3 separate regions of the Homo sapiens genome follow, and regions 2 and 3 are each linked to region 1. Evidence: promoter capture Hi-C in human tissues and cell types (Jung and others, 2019). All regions are on one chromosome and are shown on one strand. The core of a region is centred on a gene start or on the middle of the fragment in contact, and the rest is flanking DNA. Distances in the headings are between cores, read along the strand shown. Region 1 holds the start of SOX2 (SRY-box transcription factor 2). Region 2 has its middle 210 kb from the start of LINC01994. Region 3 overlaps SOX2-OT (SOX2 overlapping transcript).

Region 1 (3,164 bases), core at 401-2,900:
AAGAAAGAAAATAAGTAACCCTGATGGTTTAAGCCCTTTATAAAAAAGAAATGGCATCAGGTTTTTTTTTCTTTATTCCCCCCCACCCCACCCTTTGTAGTCAAGTGCATTTTAGCCACAAAGATCCCAACAAGAGAGTGGAAGGAAACTTAGACGAGGCTTTGTTTGACTCCGTGTAGCGACAACAAGAGAAACAAAACTACCTATTTGTAACGGACGTGCTGCCATTGCCCTCCGCATTGAGCGCCTACCTATTGAAATCTTTACGTCGGGACAATGGGAGAGCGGCTAAAATTACCCTCTTGGGTCCTGGGCGGGCAAGATTCCTGAGCCCCTACCCCCGCCCCCATCTCATCCTCCTCTAACCCGGGCCTTGCTGGGCTCCCCCTTCCCCAGTCCCGGCCGCCTTCTCCCAGTGTGCGCTGCCTGCACCTGTGCCTGGAGAGCATCGACCCCGCCTCCCAGGCCTTGAGCCCCTTTGCGGCGCAGCCCCAGCCTTGCGCGGCCTGGGCTTTGCGGCCACCACAATGGAAATCTACGGGGAAAATGCCAGGGCTGGTTCTGCTGGAGTCCTGGGAACTCTGCGTGGGAGGGAGTTTGTGACTGCGGCCCAAAAGCCACCTCCATACAGTGCCGTGGGATGCCAGGAAGTTGAAATCACCCTCCCCCATCGCCTGCACTTTTGAGCGCCCTTCCGTCTGTGTCTTTCCCCAGCCCCCATTTGAAAGCCGCACGACCGAAACCCTTCTTACGGGGAGGCATGGGATGGGAATGGGGAGTGGGGGCAGACAGTAGAAGCATCCCCTTTGCTACGGTTGAATGAAGACAGTCTAGTGGGAGATGTGGCTGGGGCTAAGAGGAAGAGCTGCAGTTTCCTGGGCCAAAGAGCTGAGTTGGACAGGGAGATGGCAGCTTACCAAGGCCTGCTGGTTCTCAGCTCTAGAGTCTGCCTTATGGTCCGAGCAGGATTTATTTTTAAGAACAGAGCAAGTTACGTGGAAGCAAGGAAGGTTTTGAGGACAGAGGTTTGGGTCTCCTAACTTCTAGTCGGGACTGTGAGAAGGGCGTGAGAGAGTGTTGGCACCTGTAAGGTAAGAGAGGAGAGCGGAAGAGCGCAGTACGGGAGCGGCACCAGAGGGGCTGGAGTTGGGGGGGAGTGCTGTGGATGAGCGGGAGAACAATGACACACCAACTCCTGCACTGGCTGTTTCCAGAAATACGAGTTGGACAGCCGCCCTGAGCCACCCACTGTGCCCTGCCCCACCCCCGCACCTTAGCTGCTTCCCGCGTCCCATCCTCATTTAAGTACCCTGCACCAAAAAGTAAATCAATATTAAGTTTAAAGAAAAAAAAACCCACGTAGTCTTAGTGCTGTTTACCCACTTCCTTCGAAAAGGCGTGTGGTGTGACCTGTTGCTGCGAGAGGGGATACAAAGGTTTCTCAGTGGCTGGCAGGCTGGCTCTGGGAGCCTCCTCCCCCTCCTCGCCTGCCCCCTCCTCCCCCGGCCTCCCCCGCGCGGCCGGCGGCGCGGGAGGCCCCGCCCCCTTTCATGCAAAACCCGGCAGCGAGGCTGGGCTCGAGTGGAGGAGCCGCCGCGCGCTGATTGGTCGCTAGAAACCCATTTATTCCCTGACAGCCCCCGTCACATGGATGGTTGTCTATTAACTTGTTCAAAAAAGTATCAGGAGTTGTCAAGGCAGAGAAGAGAGTGTTTGCAAAAGGGGGAAAGTAGTTTGCTGCCTCTTTAAGACTAGGACTGAGAGAAAGAAGAGGAGAGAGAAAGAAAGGGAGAGAAGTTTGAGCCCCAGGCTTAAGCCTTTCCAAAAAATAATAATAACAATCATCGGCGGCGGCAGGATCGGCCAGAGGAGGAGGGAAGCGCTTTTTTTGATCCTGATTCCAGTTTGCCTCTCTCTTTTTTTCCCCCAAATTATTCTTCGCCTGATTTTCCTCGCGGAGCCCTGCGCTCCCGACACCCCCGCCCGCCTCCCCTCCTCCTCTCCCCCCGCCCGCGGGCCCCCCAAAGTCCCGGCCGGGCCGAGGGTCGGCGGCCGCCGGCGGGCCGGGCCCGCGCACAGCGCCCGCATGTACAACATGATGGAGACGGAGCTGAAGCCGCCGGGCCCGCAGCAAACTTCGGGGGGCGGCGGCGGCAACTCCACCGCGGCGGCGGCCGGCGGCAACCAGAAAAACAGCCCGGACCGCGTCAAGCGGCCCATGAATGCCTTCATGGTGTGGTCCCGCGGGCAGCGGCGCAAGATGGCCCAGGAGAACCCCAAGATGCACAACTCGGAGATCAGCAAGCGCCTGGGCGCCGAGTGGAAACTTTTGTCGGAGACGGAGAAGCGGCCGTTCATCGACGAGGCTAAGCGGCTGCGAGCGCTGCACATGAAGGAGCACCCGGATTATAAATACCGGCCCCGGCGGAAAACCAAGACGCTCATGAAGAAGGATAAGTACACGCTGCCCGGCGGGCTGCTGGCCCCCGGCGGCAATAGCATGGCGAGCGGGGTCGGGGTGGGCGCCGGCCTGGGCGCGGGCGTGAACCAGCGCATGGACAGTTACGCGCACATGAACGGCTGGAGCAACGGCAGCTACAGCATGATGCAGGACCAGCTGGGCTACCCGCAGCACCCGGGCCTCAATGCGCACGGCGCAGCGCAGATGCAGCCCATGCACCGCTACGACGTGAGCGCCCTGCAGTACAACTCCATGACCAGCTCGCAGACCTACATGAACGGCTCGCCCACCTACAGCATGTCCTACTCGCAGCAGGGCACCCCTGGCATGGCTCTTGGCTCCATGGGTTCGGTGGTCAAGTCCGAGGCCAGCTCCAGCCCCCCTGTGGTTACCTCTTCCTCCCACTCCAGGGCGCCCTGCCAGGCCGGGGACCTCCGGGACATGATCAGCATGTATCTCCCCGGCGCCGAGGTGCCGGAACCCGCCGCCCCCAGCAGACTTCACATGTCCCAGCACTACCAGAGCGGCCCGGTGCCCGGCACGGCCATTAACGGCACACTGCCCCTCTCACACATGTGAGGGCCGGACAGCGAACTGGAGGGGGGAGAAATTTTCAAAGAAAAACGAGGGAAATGGGAGGGGTGCAAAAGAGGAGAGTAAGAAACAGCATGGAGAAAACCCGGTACGCTCAAAAAGAAAAAGG
Region 2 (3,164 bases), core at 294-2,793, 560 kb after region 1:
TAGACAGACGTTTAGGAAAGGCAAGCCTGGCACCCCAAACTAGCATAAAGCCCAATTTCTATCATTTTAAAATATGTGTTCTTTTTAAAAAACATGAAATGTATGCTTGAATTTGGCAAAATATGAGCAACCATAAGAAAATTGAAGGGACTATTTTTATCTTGTATTGAAATACAAGTGAATTAGTGCCTACACCAAACATGGCATTAGAAAATCACGTGATAAAGTTTTATTTTATTCAGTGTGTTCCTGAATTACTGGCCTAAAAATTACTGCCCTACCCCAAGAACATAACATAGAACTAGTCCCTTGATGTCTACTCTGCGGAAGCCAAACAGATAAGCTCTTCTTCTTTGGTAGGGCCTGTCCTCTGGTCTCCCCTGTCCCATGAAGGAAGGTGAGGAAAGATAGGTTAGGATGCATGAGTCCAATCAACACAAAAGAGAGCAAATCCCTTAGGACAACCACCAAGAAAAATCAAAGAAGAGATATCACCTAGCAACTTCTTATAGAACAGATGAGCTGCTCCTATGTTAGTTTTCAAAAAGTCACTAATAATTACATTGGACCTCCAATCAACTATTAACACTAGTAAGAACAGGAAAGAGGAAGAAAGAATGAACTAATAGTTTTTAGGCATTTATTTTATGTTAGGCATTAGGCTTTACATGTATCATTTTACTTGATTTGCCTAACATTTCTTTAAGGGAGGCATTATTCTAGACAAATAAATTGAGGCACAGAAAAATTATGTAACTTGTCTTCTGAGGTTTACATATGTTTAAATTTTTTAGAAAACTCAGAAAACTAGAAATCCTAAAGGACGTCATTTAGAGTTTTGCATTCCTTGAGGATCCTTACAACTAATGATTTGAAAACTCATCCTATACTTTTTCAGAGAATAGAATGTAAGTCATTCTACAAGCATTCAAAAAAATTGAGTGTCAGGAATTCTAAAGGGTGTTCACTTGTTTGATGCATTTTTAATGTATATAGAACATGGAAGAGTGAATTACCCATAATAAAACTTGTTCATTCACCTTTTTTTTTTTTTTTTTTTTTTTTTTTTTTTTTGGTTCTTAGATGGAGAAAATAAGTAGAAGGACTCAGGGTAGTGAAATGTAAAAACCACTTGTATAAGCTTCCACCCATGGAGACACTCTAGAAAAGAGTAAGAGGAAAATCGCCTCTCAAGGAAATGTCACTGTCACAGGAGAAATGAAAAAATACCCTCTGGCCTGGAGTCAGGAAAACTGGGTTCGAGCCCATTGACTCTTTTAACTTCCTGTGTGACCTCAGGCAAATCTCTCCACTTCCCTGAGCCTCAGTTTTCTCATCTATTAAAAAAAAAGGAATTGAGCCCTAGGTTGTCCTTGCCATGCTACTTTTTAATTCCAACACACTATTACTCCCTGAGAGGTAATATTAATAGCTATGTCCTGGTTCGGCTATTTATGCCAAAGTGGTTTAGGTCAGTGGTTCTCAAACTTTAGGGAATCGACTGGAGGACATGTTGAAACTCAGATTGCTGGGCTGCTGCCCCGCAGTTTCCAAAACAGTAGGTCTGGGGTGGGGGCTCTGAATTTATATTTCTAAGTTCTCAGGTGATATCGATGCTACTGGTGGAACCACACTTTGAGAACCACTGATTCAGGACTTGAAGGCTTTTCAGTAGATTAAAGATAAATGTAAGAACCTATCAAGGTCAATTCATTCTAGTAGGCTACCGACTGCACTTTTTTTTTTTTTTTTTTTTTTAGACAGAGTCTCGCTCAGTCGCCCAGGCTGGAGTGCAGTGGCGAGATCTCGGCTCACCGCAGGCTCCGCCTCCTGGGTTCAGGCCATTTTCCTGCCTCAGCCTCCTGAGTAGCTGGGACTACAGGCGCCCACCACCACACCCGGCTAATTTTTTTGTATTTTTTTAGTAGAGACGGGGTTTCACCGTGTGAGCCAGGATGGTCGCGATCTCCTGACCTCGTGATCCGCCCTCCTCAGCCTCCCAAAGTGCTGGGATTACAGGTGTGAGCCACTGTGCCTGGCCACTGAGTGCATTTTTAAGTTAACCTAAAATATTCTAAAAATATCAGACTGGATGTCAGAGCTGGGGGAAACTCCTCTGATCGGGAAGAAACATATTTTCCTATATTCTAGAAAGGTATCCTCTAAAAGATGGGTGGCTATGTTTGCCTTGGATATATCTTTCTGGACCTATTCTACCAGACACTTTTGAGACTGTTTAAAAATTAACAAAATCAGCTGGGCCAACATGGTGAAACCCTGTCACTACAAAAAAGTGCAAAAATTAGCCGGGCATGGTGGCATGACACCTGTAATCCCAGCTACTCGGGGGGCTGTGGCAGGAGGATTGCTTGAACCTGGGAGGTGGAGGTTGCAGTGAGCTGAGATTGCACCACTGCACTCCAGCCTGGGCGACAGAGAGAGACTCCATCTCAAAAAAAAAAAAAAATTAACAAAATCACATTTGTGCAGAAGTGGGATGAGTGTATTCAGGCACTGGCTCTGGTCAGGCTTCTAAGTTTGGGGAGCCATAAGCCAAACCTCTCCTTCTCTGTCTAGGTTCTGACCTACCCCAGCGACCTACCACAGACAAATTCCTGAAGTCAATATCACACAGTGGAGTCAGGCTGCCTACTTTCTATTCCTTAATACCTAACAACTATTCCACCTTTAACCTCTCATACCTCTTTATCTCATCTGTAAAAATGAAAATGTTAGCCTCATAGGATTGTCATGAGGATTAAATGAAATAATACACCTTAAGCACTTAGAATCTCTGGCACACAGTACATGCTCAATAAACGCTAAGTTGTTATTTCACTCCTTACCAGAGAATATAACCTTAAACTATCTACTCTCCACCTCTGAACAAATGTACAAGTATGACATAATCAAGGAAAATATTCAAGGACAGGTCAAGAAAAGAGCATCAAGGATGGGCTGCCCATCCATTTCCCTAAATCAAGCCATCATCACAAAGGCTACATGCTTAGACCACACTTTGTTTTGGGGGCTGGGAGTCCCCAAATTGTGAAACTGCTTTTACTAAATTTAACTTTGGCCTTAGTCAAGTCCTGAGAGACAGCATGAGAAGTAGTTAAATGTAACTCACTTTGAGGTAGAGATAGGAAAATGTCTTTTTCATT
Region 3 (3,164 bases), core at 252-2,751, 520 kb before region 1:
AGGTGGATGGGGATGGTTCAGAAGAGGTTCTTGGAAGAAGTAGTGCTCAACCAGATTCTGAATAATGAACAGTGTTGGCCAGGTAAAGAGATGGCAGAGCAGGAAGAATATTCTAGGAAGTGAGAACAATGTGCAGAATTCTGAAGGTGAGAAAGTGACCCACTCAGAATATGTTGTACAGTGAGAGGAGAGGAGTGGGGAAAAATGAAGATGGAGAGAAAAGCAAAGTCCAGATCATGATGTCTGTATATCCTGCTGAGGAGTGTCGTATTTATTCTAAGGATCATAGGGAGCAATGGGAGTGTTATGAACAGGAGTGACATAGACATTAGTGTTTATTATTAGGTTGAAAGATCACCTTAGTTATATAATCACAGCGAAGTGAAGTGGGAGCAGGGATGGAAATAGAAGGCAGGGTTTGGTCAGGAGGCTTGTACAGTCATCTAGTAAAGACATAATGGTGCCTTGAGATGAGGAAAATGGGTAGATATGGGGGAGATGTAAGGGGTGGAATTAATGGAATATGATGATCATCTATTGGGAATGAGAGAGATGGAACACTGAGAGAACACTGAGAGAGAAGGACTCTTGGGTCTGTTCCAGGCCATGTGAAAGAAGGTGGCACCATTTAGTGAGAGAGGACAGGGAAGAGTGGTATGTTTGTGGGTACATCATTGAGTTCAACTTTGAATGTGTTGACTTGAAATGAATATGTAAAAGAAGGTAGGGCAGTCCCACTTCCGTTTTGTTGTTGTTGTTGTTGTTGTTTTTGTTGTTGTTTGTGTGTTTTTTGTTTTTGAGAGGGAGTCTTGCTCTGTCGCCCAGGCTGGAGTGCAGTGGTGTGATCTCAGCTCACTGCAACCTCTGCCTCCTGGGTTCAAGTGATTCTCCTGCCTCAGCCTCCCAAGTAGCTGGGATTACAGGCACGTGCCACCACGCCCAGCTGATTTTTGTATTTTTAGTAGAGATGGGGTTTCACCATATTGGCCAGGCCGGTCTCAACCTCCTGACCCCAGGTGATCTGCCCGCCTCGGCATCCCAAAGTGTTGGGATTATAGGTGTGACCCACTGCACCTGGTCTCCACTCCTGTTTTGGGTAGTTGTTAAGGGATGTTTCTTATAGGCCAATTATAGAAGTAGTATCAAGAAATCTCCTCAGCATTACTTTTATATTTTAGAACTATTTCCCAAAGAAAAGCTGACTACTCATAAAAATACAGTTGAAGCTTGGGCAGGGGCTTTGTTTCAGTTCTGTCCAAGTTGGAAATGAAAAGGTGCATGGGTGAGCAGGTTCAGCTGGCATTGGAATTTCACTGCCATGAATTGCCAGTGGGCCATCTGATCCATCTCCTTGAAGGAGCAGACAGGCTAGGTACTGTGGTGCCTAGGCAGGCTGAGTAATTAGAAATATAATCAAGGTAAAAACTGAAGTTAAGGGATGTGTTGAGGTGGTGACAGAGAGAGGTAATCTAGAGAGGAGAATCTGAATGTGTTACAAAAGGGAAGGAGTAAAGCAAGTAATATGAGCTGGATTACCAAGCAAGAGACTTGCAGATTCAGAGACCTAAAGCAGAGAGGAATGGGTTGGGTTTGTAAGCAAGAGAGCTGCCCTTTTCCCTTGCTTTCTCAGGAGATTGAGGCTGTCTCAGAGATTGAGGCTGATGCTAGAGGCTGTCTTTTGGGCATTCTTAGAGGCATGGTGCTTGCTGCAGTCATGAAGTCAGCAATGGGGCAGATACCTGTGTTTAAGTCCTTAGGTCCCCTTTAAGCCTGGAAACTCTTCAATTTCGGGGGTATTTTTAGTATTAGAAAGTTATGTCTGACTGCCGCTTCTGTGGGTGAATTACTTGCTTAGGATTTTGAGATAGGGAAGGATGGGTAGAGCGAGGACCTATCGGATGTGTAGGCAAAGCTGGTGGCCAAACTCTAAAGAAGAGCTAAGCATGGGCCTTCTAGGAAACTTCAGGGTTGTGGGAATCCTTCTGTGAGAGGTTGAGAGTAAAGGTTTGGTGTGGGCCTTCGGTGACAGCAGAAACTTCTTGATGTGGCCCTCTGTGAAGTTTCAAGAAGGTGGTCTCTTGGGTTGCCGGCCCTAGTAGGGGACTTTATTAGCATTTCTCTTGGAGAAAACTTGGTTGGGTAAAAGCACTGAACTTCTGTGATGGGTATTAGAATGCAAAGCTTTCCTTTGTTCATTTATTTGACTATGGAATTCTGTTTTTTGTGAAGCAATTTAAGGGCCCAGTTTTCTACAAAACACACTTTCCATGTATATGTATGTAACAAACATGCACGTTGTACACATGTACCCTAAAACTTAAAGTATAAAAAAAGTCTCATTTAGCTCAAAAAAAAAAAAAGAAGTGCTGTATTCAAAAATAGAGTTATTACTGAAGATCTTGAATCATTGGCAATCTAAAAATGTTTTGGATGCAGAATGTCTTAAGCAAAATGTGCAGTATGAATTGCATATGTGATATCACTGACTGACCAACTGGAAGTTGGAGAGGAAAGTTACCCACGTAACCAAATAACCACAATTGTTGAAAATACTCTTTTGAGAAATAGTATTAGACGATGTAAATCTCAGTATGTTATTGATTGTATAGATATTGTTAGTGATATCTGGGGGCAAGGAGGACCTTTTTAAAATTTTTTTAATTAAAAAAAAATTTTTCTGAGATGGAACCTTTCTCTGTTGCCCAGGCTGTAGTGCAGTGGTGCCATCTTGGCTCACTGCAACCTCCACCTCCCGGGTTCAAGCGATTCTTCTGCCTCAGCTTCCCGAGTATCTGGGAATACAGGCGCCCACCATCATGCCTGGCTAATTTTTGTATTTTTAGTAGAGACAGGGTTTCGCCATGTTGACTCGGCTGGTCTCCAGCTTCTGGCCTCAGGTGATCCACCCGCCTTGGCCTCCCAAAGTGCTAAGATTACAGGCATGAGCCACCGCACCTGGCCGTAAATTCTTTTTCTAATTCTAAATGGCTTTAACATATCTTAAGCTTTTACCATTATAGTCATTGTAGGTTATTATCATTCTAGATAAAAATACCATCATAATTACCCATACCAAAACACCTGTTAATATACCATCTTAAAATATTCTCTCATTTTATTAGCTTGGTTAGTAGCCAGAAGAGACAGTACTGCACATAACTTAA

Evidence for each region. Contacts are between HindIII fragments. The study calls those that stand out against the background at their distance.
Region 2: a contact is called between a fragment that was not itself captured here and the fragment with the promoter of SOX2 in region 1, in 1 of the 25 tissues and cell types used here (lymphoblastoid cells).
Region 3: a contact is called between a fragment that was not itself captured here and the fragment with the promoter of SOX2 in region 1, in 1 of the 25 tissues and cell types used here (dorsolateral prefrontal cortex).

The regions. Positions count from the first base shown.
Region 1 is chr3:181,710,275-181,713,438 of GRCh38, forward strand. It overlaps SOX2 (SRY-box transcription factor 2), which reads left to right and starts at 1,651. Exons shown (of 1, transcript NM_003106.4): 1 at 1,651-3,164. The coding sequence starts at 2,087. The coding sequence ends at 3,040. The region is part of intron 6 of SOX2-OT (SOX2 overlapping transcript); the gene reads left to right. RefSeq lists enhancers at 80-933, 934-1,786, 1,787-2,640, 2,641-3,164, a promoter at 879-1,912 and a silencer at 1,492-1,551. The HindIII fragment of the contact is 19,833 bases long and covers 1-3,164 here.
Region 2 is chr3:182,272,455-182,275,618 of GRCh38, forward strand. No RefSeq gene overlaps it. Among named protein-coding and RNA genes, the nearest start is that of LINC01994, 210 kb to the right of the region's middle. The HindIII fragment of the contact is 3,228 bases long and covers 1-3,157 here.
Region 3 is chr3:181,192,335-181,195,498 of GRCh38, forward strand. All of the region lies in intron 3 of SOX2-OT (SOX2 overlapping transcript), which reads left to right. Among named protein-coding and RNA genes, the nearest start is that of SOX2-OT, 140 kb to the left of the region's middle. The HindIII fragment of the contact is 3,772 bases long and covers 1-3,164 here.